Regions from separate parts of the Homo sapiens genome. Here all the other regions are linked to region 1. Evidence: promoter capture Hi-C in human tissues and cell types (Jung and others, 2019). All regions are on one chromosome and are shown on one strand. Each heading gives the region's core, a stretch centred on a gene start or on the middle of the fragment in contact. The rest is flanking DNA. Distances are from core to core; before and after follow the strand shown. Region 1 holds the start of WDR53 (WD repeat domain 53). Region 2 has its middle 11 kb from the start of DLG1. Region 3 overlaps DLG1 (discs large MAGUK scaffold protein 1). Region 4 overlaps DLG1 (discs large MAGUK scaffold protein 1).

Region 1 (2,520 bases), core at 14-2,513:
AATATAGTGGAGGGAACTAAAGAGAACTTGGGGGAAAATAATGAAAACAAATGGTTAAAAATCAGAGCTTGGAAAAGATGAGATAAACGTGGAGTGAAAGCAAACTAGAAACTTAGAAACTTAGAAACTAAGCCCATGTTAAGGTGGCCGGGATTATTTAATATAATGAAGTCTATCTGGAGGCCGGGGAGAAAAGTAGGATGAGGGCATTAAAAGGTACAAGAGTGGTGGTCTGTCTTTAACGGGGAAAACTGTCAAAAGTTGAATGAGTGAGGCAAACTACCTAGTTGTTTGAAAAGTGGATCACGGAAGTGGGATGGGTTAAGGAGCAGAACTTCGATCCAAAGAAAAGAGAATCTTTATCTTGGGGGGAGGTGAGGAAGATACTGACTGGAGCCGTGGAAAGGCGGGCTGGTGAGGCGAAGCTTCTGACTCAGAAGCTCGGATGAGAAACACCGCGAACGACGCCGGGGAGCGGGACTGGGGGCAGCGGTGTGGCCCGGGGCTCTCTCACCTTGGCCTTGTAGCTGGGCAGGTTGCACAGGATGTCCGTGCGCAGAGCCTCTTCTGCCAGGCTGCGGGCGCACAGGCTCCGCCACACCTCGCTGTTCTCATCGCCGTGCAGGCAGCGGTACCAGTGCTTGCACACCAGGGCGCAGCTCCGCAGCTCGGACAGCTCCAGGTAAGAGAACACCAACTCCAGCACCCGGCTGGGCAGCCGGCCCCCGGCCCCCGCGGCCCCAGAGCCCGAGCCCGCGCCCGCGCCCGCGCCGCCGCCGCTACAGCCAGCGCCGCCCGAGGCTGCCCCAGCCCCCGGGGCCGGCGCCGCCATCGCCTCACCAGCCGGCCCTAGGGCCGCCGCTGCCGCCGCCGCTTCCCGCCGTCTCTGCTCGGAAGGCCAAGCCTCGCCCGGAGACCGGAGCGGCTCGCTCACCGCCCCTGTCAGTGCCAACCGCCGGCGCCTCCACCACTCCCGCCCCTGCCCGGGGGCGTCCGCCGCGCGCCCCGCCTCACTGAGGGCAGACGCACCGGCTGCAGGGGCGTCCTCCGCCCCTCCTCCGCGGCTCAGCGCGGGCGCCGAAACCGCCCGACTCGCCCGGCCTCTCCGCGGCGCGCCAGCGGCTCCGCCATGCGGGTTGAGGGCACGAAGCAAGGGCGCACGCCCAGCTCGTTCGCGGTTCCTCTCGGCCCCGGATGTGACTGTTTGGCTGCGCCGCCTCACGCCTGACGCTCGACGGGATTGGGCGCCGGCGGGTGAGGTTATCACTAGGCGCCGAGGAGGGGAGCGGGAAGCGCAGGTATGAGGCTGGCGCCGGTGGCTTCGATGCTGCTTTCCGGTGACTTCGATGCTGTTTTCCAGTGCTTTTTCCTTTTTCTGGTCTGGTGGCTCCGCGTCTGCTCTCCTGGGCTCCCTTTCCTGTGACGTTTCCCTGTGTCCGTTAGGTCCTTGCTTCAGACTCCAGCTCAACGCATGAAACTTTTCTCTCCTTGCTTGCCGGGTCCTGGCTCCCCAACCTTTTTGTGTAGCTTGGGCAGCGGAGGCCGTCTTTACCTGGTCAGGCCCTCTCGTTCTCCCTAAGTATCGGCACTTAGCGAACGTCTGTCCCTGTGTGCCTTCGCAAAGTAAGGTGGCTGCGACTGAACACCCCCTCGCCCAAACGTTCGAGTGCCATTTGAGCGCTAATTAAGTGCTGCCGTCTTTTGGACAAGATGTGGTCTTTACTGGATCCACCGCTTAGTAAGCAGATGAAGGCAATGTAGTTTTAGTCAATTAAACATTCCAATAGGGAGAATGACGTGGAGGCTATAATTATAGATGGATTCTTGGAAGGGGAAGAATTTCAGCATCCCAGCTTGGGCAACATTGCGAGGCAGTGTCGCTACAAAAAAATAGAAAAATTAGCCGAGGGTGGTGGCGTGCGCCTCTGGTCCCAGCTACTTGGGAGGCTGAGCCCGGGAGGTCGAGGCTGAGGTGAACCGTAATCGCCCTGCTGTGCTCCAGCCTGGGCGACAGAGTGAGCCCCTACCTCACACACACACACACACACACACACACACACACACAAGAATTTCAGCATTATTTGATTATACTACGATTTCCTAGGTGGCCCCAAAGTTTTCCGACAGCCTTTAAAGCATGCTTAGTAAGAGAATAATAATAACCATCATTTGAGCCACGGTGTGAACCAGGCACTGTATACTACGTCATTTACGCAGATTTTTATATACGTAATCCTCAAAACAACTCCATGAGCTGAGTAATTAAAATAATAGGGTTCACAGACTCCCTTGGTCAACTCCAATGTCTTGGAACCTTTATGTAGTAAGAAATCTTTTCTGAAGCTTCTTGCTATGTATAATCCATTTCTTAGTCTCTAGTAAAAGCAAAGGAACGGTGGCTACCTTCCCTACCCTCTGATTCATGGTGTTTGATTATTATTTGCCTGTCCCTTCTCCTCATGTCTTTTTCACCAAGTCCAGTAACCCTAATTCTTTTCATTCTTACCAGTGCCAGCGCCA
Region 2 (2,520 bases), core at 7-2,506, 740 kb before region 1:
AGGTTGCAGTGAGCCAAGATCCCTCCATAGCACTCCAGCCTGGGCGACAGAGTGAGACTCCAACTCAAAAAATAAAAAATTTAAAAAAAAATTTTTTAAAGCAATCTTCTCCTAAGGAATGGTGATTTCTGGAGTAAAAACTTTCTCTGAATAGGAGTTTCCCTTGCTCACTCCTGCACCAGCCTTCTCTCCATGACCAAATTCATAAGGCACTCAGCAAGACTCTGTGCTCAGAGCCCAATTGCAACACACAGTACAATTATGCTGACCATGCCAAATACTTTGGCTTTGGAGAATAGATCTATTAACCCCAGCAACGTGGTTGTGTTCCTCAAGCGATCCTAGCCTAAGAAAAGACATGTGAATAGCCTGACCTCAGAGTCACCCTGGCCTGAGCTTGCCCTCAACCTGATCTGAACTTCCTGGCACTTGGGACCAGAATAATAGCAGTCACACCTGAGTTTCCAGTATAAGGTCACAATGCAAAGAAGAGAATCAAAAACACTGGTCCGAGAAGATCTTCCAAATCCCTTCCTAAATGAAGTGGTTAGATCAGAGATTTATGTTTGAGTTTTTATTCTCTCCTGATTTGTTCACAATTAACTTGCAAAGCTGTGTTAATAGGCAGCTTCATGAACAGAGATCCCAGAGGTTAGAGACCAATAAGAATTGTACAGTATTGCATCATTTCCTTGGGAAATTCTTCAAATTAAGCCACTAGCTGCATTCTTTTCTGGCTCAATTTAGGGTCACCAAACCATAGAAAAGAATGATTCACCAAACAAACTTTTGCTTTTCCTTTTCTGGTGCTTCATTTAACCGCTTTATGCCTCAGAGTAAAGCTATTATAATGGCATTATCCTTCTAATGAGGAACAGTGCAATGCTTTCCTGATGTTAATACCCAGAATTATGCAGTGTTTAAAAGCCACCGTGACTTTAGGGAATACTCACTAAGTTTTCTATTGCAAATACCCTAGTCATATTGAAAATGAATGAGTGTAATTCTTTTGGTGTTTTTAAAAAACGTACAATTCTTTTAATAAATCATAGTTCCCAAAAGGAATAAGAATGGTTCATTAGCAGTACTAATGAAAATTCCATCTTCAGTAAAACTTAGCAGAATATCATTCCCTGTAACAAAATGTTTTCAGACACTTTGTTTGCCAACTTTATTAATGGAGAACTTTGTGGTCTAGATTAGAAAACTGAAGATAATTGAGAGAAAGAGAAAGAAAGAGAAACCATCCTAGACAAGCAGTTATATGTATCATTTAAAAAATAATGGCTCAAACAATAGTGTCACAAATCTTCAGAGGTAATGAGAAATTTTTAAAAAAATTAAAAAGTGGCATAAAAAACATTGTTCTTAGTAAAATTCTTTTCCAGGCATTATATTTATTGCTGAGGTGTTCTCTTCATCCACTCGTTCGTGTTTAGCCAAGCAACCTTGAGAAGTTCGAAGTTGTTTGCCTGCTACAGACCATAAACAAAGACGGAAGATTTGAATTTTCAAGTCCCAAGGCTTCAGCTTTGCAATTTCCTTCTCAGACAAATTTTCCTAGAGAAATAGAATTTGTTTTAGTTCCTGGCTCATAGTAGTTGCATCATACAGATTAGTTTACTGAATGACCTGATGAATAAGGCTTTTATTAAAGTAGCAGACTAAACAATTTTTCTGTCTGTTTTTAGGAACTTTCCCTGTCTGTGGAAGTAAGTGATGACCACCTGAATGAGAACAGAGGCTATTTATACAGAGCTTGCTATAGCGAGGGAGTGAGCACCGTCACTTGCATTTGGCAGAGGCTCAAAGGCAGGCAAGGGAGTAGGAAAGCTTTATAATTAAAAGAAGAGAAAAGGAGATCCTCAGGTATGGAAAAGCTGGAGGCAAGATAACTAGAAGCAAGGCATTTTGTATGATTGATTTAGGGAGAATACTTGCCTTTCTCTGATTGGCCTTGAGTTGAAAGATGGTAAAAATTAGTGAAGCTGGGCCGGGCGTGGTGGCTTACGCCTGTAATCCCAGCACTTTGGGAGGCCGAGGCAGGCGGATCACGAGGTCAGGAGATCGAGACCATCCTGGCTAACATGGTGAAACCCCGTCTCTACTAAAAAATACAAAAAAAATAGCCGGGCGTGGTGGCGGGTGCCTGTAGTCCCAGCTCCTCGGGAGGCTGAGGCAGGAGAATGGTGTGAACCCGGGAGGCGGAGCCTGCAGTGATCCGAGATCGCGCCACTGCACTCCAGCCTGGGCGACAGAGTGAGACTCCGTCTCAAAAAAAAAAAAAAAAAAATAGGGAAGCTGGCAGTCATTGACCAAGTTCTGATTATTTTAGGCCAATTACTGCAGTGGTTGTTGTCTGATTTCCTGGGTTGCTTGCTGCAGAGGTTGTGGATCACAGAGTTCTGTTGTCATATATGGTCTGGTGTGTATTCAGTCTTTCATCATATATAGCAATTTCTTGAATTACTTTCTCATCCCAATCCCCCTTGACATTTCAAAATGTAGTGGCACGCAAAG
Region 3 (2,520 bases), core at 14-2,513, 550 kb before region 1:
CTATCTATCTGTCTGGCCCTGGAGTTTTCTTGGGAAGGATTTTAGTTCTGAATGCATTTTCCTTAGCAGACACAAGAATGTTCAGATTTTCTTTCTCTTGTTACCTAAGAGGACTAGATAACATTTGATTTTTTTTTTTTTTTTTTTTTGTGGTGATTGTCAAGCATTGATGGAGGGGATGTTTCTCACAGAGGCAGCCTTGCAAGTGAGCAGATGTCAAAATTGGAAAACAATTTTTGTACTAGTTAGAAAAATATTTTTAGCAAGAATAGTAAAAGAAATAGGGAAGATCATAGAAGTTATACATGAACTATAGAAGATAAAGAGCCACAATGTTTATAACCAAAATAAGGTAGTCAAAATATGATACTCAGGAATAAAAGTAGGAAAAAAAAGAAGTCTGTTGAATCTAACAGAGAATACAGTTTCTCTGCCGACATTAAAATGTTCCTGTTTTTTACAGTATATATTTTCTCGCTTTTAACTTATATTCTCTTTAGCTGCATGGCCTTGCTACTTCTGATTTGGACACCAGTCTTTTCCCATTCTCACTTCAAGCTCTTCTACTTGCTTTTCTATAAAATCTTATAGTGTTGAATCATTCATCTTAATATATAAGAAAAATGAATTAGGCACTCTTGTGCTTCTCTGGGGGACCTTTTTACATAAGATTTGGGGTATAAGAAATAGTACTGTTTTATCTGATCCTTCTTTGAGGCCGTCATTTCTTTCATAGGAACATTAATTTTTAGTCTCTGTTGTCTGAGAGTATGTGGTACATGTGAGATTAACTGCCCCAGAAAGGATGCATTGACTAAAGGGATAGTCTGGATGTGTCAGGGAAAATGTATATTTTCTGGTTTGGGCATTTGACTGGATTTCTTGTCTAGTTGTTTTTTTTGTTTCATCTAAATATGAAAATGCAGCAAAAGAATTTAAGAGTCAAAAATCAGTAAACTCTGGATTTTTAACAGGCTAGTGATTGTAGAGGTTCACGTGGGTATCTATTGATTGAGGGCTACATACCAATTCACTTGAAAATCCCATATTCTTACTGACCACCCAGGAAAGACTTTGGACTTTCAAAGTTAAGAGCCATTGGTAGAAAGTCCTTTGGCTCAAATACAAACGAGCATCTTATATATGAACTGGATAGGAAACAATTGCTGTTGGATACTGCAAACCTGTAATATCAATAGATACACTGCATCTCTAAAATACTATCGTTTCAGTCATTTCCTGTTGTCTTTCATCCAGTTCACTTTATTCCTTTATGTTACCTATCTGGCCACTATAGTAATTTGAACTAATAATTCCTGCATTTTTGTACTCCAGTGCGTAGTATGCTGCTTCCCTCCATAGAAGATATGCTCTAATTTAATAAAAAAGAGATTAATGCTTGATAATTAAATAATACAGCTACTTTTGAAGTGCTTTGTAACTTTATCATAGTTGAAGCCTCAAGAAAGTTAAATATTGCTTCCTCTGTGTTTTGGTAATGATTGGAATAATTCAAGTGTCTTATGTCTTTGTAAGCTACAGCTGCCATGTGTTACCTACCTGTGTCTTTAGAAAGCATGGTCAGGAATCACTATAATTTTCTGTTATTAGCTTTTGCTAGAATGGAAAACCTATATGTGGTATTTATTACTATTGAAGTGAACCAACGTTTGGTTTTTGCTTTTTTTTTTTTTTTTTTCTTTCTCGAGACAGGGCATCTCACTCTGTCACCTACGTAGGCTGGAGTGCAGTGATGCGATCTCGGCTCACTGCAACCTCCACCTCCCAGGTTCAAGCAATTCTCCCACCTCAGCCTCCCGAGTAAGTGGGACTACAGGCCACACCACCAAGTCTGGCTAATTTTTGTATTTTTTTGGTAGAGATGGGATTTCACCATGTTGGCCAGGCTGGTCGCGAACTCCTGACCTCAGGTGATCCGCCTGCCTTGGCCTCCCAAAGTGCTAGGGTTACAGGCGTGAGCCACTACGCCTGGACGACAGTTTTTGCTTGTTTTTCGTTTTTGCTTTTTACCAGGTTTTTATTCTTCTATGGGTGAATTTAAAAGCATAGATGTAAATTAGGTTGACAGATCTGAGCTAGTATAAGGACATAGTCTTTTCGCACTTATTGGAAAGCCTCTGATTTTTATTATTCACAATCAAATTTGGACTGTATATAATTCTTTAAGTAATCTGGGTGTGGTGGCTTATGCCTGTAATCCCAACACTTTGGGAGGCTGAGGTGGGAGTATCACTTCAGGACAGGAGTTTGAGACTAACCTGGGCAACATAATGTCCAGTTTTTTGGCTGATGAGTAAATCTTCTCTACCAAATTCTGATATATAAAGGAGTGCATATAAATTACACATTAATCACTCATAAATGGAATACTGATTGGCTTGTTTCGTGTTTGAAGTATTTTTCACTTTGTTTATTTTGAAGCTTCTTCTCAGCCTGTTGATAACCATGTTAGCCCATCTTCCTTCTTGGGCCAGACACCAGCATCTCCAGCCAGATACT
Region 4 (2,520 bases), core at 12-2,511, 530 kb before region 1:
TTATTAATTCCAAAGGCAAGGAATAATTCACTTTGGGGGGCCTTTACTGTTAATCTTTTTGGAGAATCATTATCAGAAATTAGCTGGACGTGGTGGCTCAGGCCTCTAATCCCAGCACTTTGGAAGGCCTAGGTGGGAGGATTACTTGAGCCCAGGAGTTCGAGACCAGCCTGGGCAACATAGCAAGATCTTGTCTCTGCTAAAACTTTTTTTAAAGTTTTTTAATTAGCCATGCGTGGTAGTGCGCACCCGTAGTCCCAGCCAAGGCAGGATTGCTATGATCTCACCACTGCACTTGAGCCTGGGCGACAGAGTGAGACCCCGTCTCAAAATAAAAATAAAAATAATCGAACATGGGAACTGGAAATATAATACTATACTCGTTTTGGACTCCATATCCCAAAGTTATAAAGTTTTATCACATACTTCCTATAGTTTAAGAATCTCTTGGCCAGGCGCGGTGGCTCACGCCTGTAATCCCAGCATTTTGGGAGGCCTAGGCGGGCAGATCACGAGGTCAGGAGATAGAGACCATTCTGGCTAACACGGTGAAACCCCGTCTCTACTAAAAATACAAAACCAAAATTAGCCAGGCGTGGTGGCGGGCACCTGTAGTCCCAGCTGCTCGCGAGGCTGAGGCAGGAGAATGGCGTGAACCCGGGAGGCCGAGCTTGCAGTGAGCCGAGATCACGCCACTGCACTCCAGCCTGGGCGACAGAGCGAGACTCTGTCTCAAAAAAAAAAAAAGAATCTCCTGTGATAGTATATAATAGTAAAACTGTACGCCATGCATGATACGAACCATGTTATGTTTATTCACTCTTTTAACTCCCAAGATAATCCTGTAAGTAAGCACCGTTATCCCCGTTTTACGTTGTAGTTGAATAAGCTCTTCCATAAAGAGACCAAGTAATTTGCTAGTTACACAACTGTTAAACGGTTAAGATTTCTTCTAGCCCCTTTTAAGCGAAGAAAAACCTTTTCCTCCACCCTTGTATGTTCAGTAACGGGCCTGTGAAGTAAACTGACAAAAAAAACAGATTAACATGGAAAAAAAGTTTCTTGTATATGGATGCAAGAGGCAACAGAAGAAATACTGAAGCTAGCTTGTGGATGAAGTTAAAAGCTTGTACACCTAATCTAGTAGGGAAAGGAAGGAGGGAGAAACAGCTTTTATTAGAAAAACGTACATTTCTTCAGGAAAGACAAGTTTTTAGGAGAAGAGATGGGGGATAAAGTTTGTGATGACATTTGTCTAAACTGGTATGACTGGTCTTTCCATTCTTCGGGGCCATCAGACTCCTCAGAGGGTATTTATGGTAACTTCATTTCTCGGAAGCTGCACCTTTTAGTCAGATTAGAGAAACTCCGAGAAGGCTTTTTTCCTGCATCTGTTGAATCTCAGATATCTTCAGCTTAAAATCTTTGTGGCAACTCTGGGGTTCTGGGTGGGTCTCCATACCCTGTTCTTACTCTTTCAACTACTCATTAAACTCTTGGAATCTCTCACCTCAAATATTTAATCTTATTGTTCCTCAAGAGTATTAGGCCAACTTTCAGAGCTTATATCTCAATCTTTTGTTCAGAAAGCATTAATTATATTGTAATAATACCATAAAAGAAATAAATTGGAAAGAAACTCAATATATAAGTTAAATTTATTTTCTCTTTCCCATTGGTTAGGTCTTATATTTGTGACATATTTTATTTTCGCAAGAAAAAAACTGTTTGGTGGCATAATCCCTATTTTGCAAGTGACCAGAGTCTAGAGAGGTTAGGCCATAGTCACTTAACTTTTCTGCGCTTCAAAGCTTTGATTGAAATCTTGAGTTACAAAGGTAGATTTCTAACACCCAGTGTCCTGACTTTATTTTCATTATTACTTCTTATACCAACCAAAGGGAGAAGAGGTGGAGATAATCTGGGAAGATTGCAGTGGACTAGTGGCATTTATTTGCAGACATTTGTCATTTCTTATCATTTTCAGTAGTAGATAGGTAATTAAAATTTTTTTCAGTCTCCTGCTTTCCCACTTCCCTTGCTGTATTTTTCTACGCGCCTGTGCTGCAGTTGACCCTTGAACAACACAGGTTTGAACTGCGAGTGTCCACTTACGCACGTGCTGTTCAACCAAACTGGGATAGAAAATGCCATATGCCTGTCAGATTCCACAAGGCCTCCTGTTAGACTTGAACATGCACGGGTTTTGGTATACGTGGGGTTCTGGAACTAATCCTCCGAGTATGCCAGAGAGCTATTGTACTTAAAACAACTAACTGGCCTTCTTAAAAATAGTTTCCCTTTTTCTTTAGGCCAATTAATAGTATCCATCCTCTGAGAATTGTTTCTCTTGGGTTTAATATCTGTGTTTAATGTATTTTATTACAGTTATAAATGAATGTTTTTCTTTATAGGGATTGCATGTTAAGAAGAGATTGAGGAAGTCCAATTTCCCCCATACCCCTTCCTCACTTTTTACTTCTAGTGTGGCGGTGAAAACAAAGGTTAAAATTTGAAAGG

What was found. The method cuts DNA at HindIII sites, captures the fragments that hold promoters and counts their contacts. A contact is called where the count stands out against the background at its distance.
Region 2: a fragment that was not itself captured here is called in contact with the fragment with the promoter of WDR53 in region 1 in 1 of the 25 tissues and cell types used here (lymphoblastoid cells).
Region 3: a fragment that was not itself captured here is called in contact with the fragment with the promoter of WDR53 in region 1 in 1 of the 25 tissues and cell types used here (mesenchymal stem cells).
Region 4: a contact is called between a fragment that was not itself captured here and the fragment with the promoter of WDR53 in region 1, in 1 of the 25 tissues and cell types used here (mesenchymal stem cells).

The regions. Positions count from the first base shown.
Region 1 is chr3:196,567,297-196,569,816 of GRCh38, reverse strand. WDR53 (WD repeat domain 53) reads left to right here and starts at 1,263. Exons shown (of 4, transcript NM_182627.3): 1 at 1,263-1,298; 2 at 2,510-2,520. FBXO45 (F-box protein 45) reads right to left here and starts at 1,157. Exons shown (of 3, transcript NM_001105573.2): 1 at 515-1,157. The coding sequence starts at 832. RefSeq lists silencers at 245-539, 661-1,200 and an enhancer at 1,922-2,520. The HindIII fragment of the contact is 3,803 bases long and covers 1-2,520 here.
Region 2 is chr3:197,307,944-197,310,463 of GRCh38, reverse strand. No RefSeq gene overlaps it. Among named protein-coding and RNA genes, the nearest start is that of DLG1, 11 kb to the right of the region's middle. The HindIII fragment of the contact is 4,492 bases long and covers 1-2,520 here.
Region 3 is chr3:197,119,453-197,121,972 of GRCh38, reverse strand. It overlaps DLG1 (discs large MAGUK scaffold protein 1), which reads left to right. Exons shown (of 25, transcript NM_001366207.1): 12 at 2,443-2,520. Among named protein-coding and RNA genes, the nearest start is that of MELTF, 91 kb to the right of the region's middle. The HindIII fragment of the contact is 7,210 bases long and covers 1-2,520 here.
Region 4 is chr3:197,099,618-197,102,137 of GRCh38, reverse strand. All of the region lies in intron 14 of DLG1 (discs large MAGUK scaffold protein 1), which reads left to right. Among named protein-coding and RNA genes, the nearest start is that of MELTF, 71 kb to the right of the region's middle. The HindIII fragment of the contact is 3,098 bases long and covers 1-2,520 here.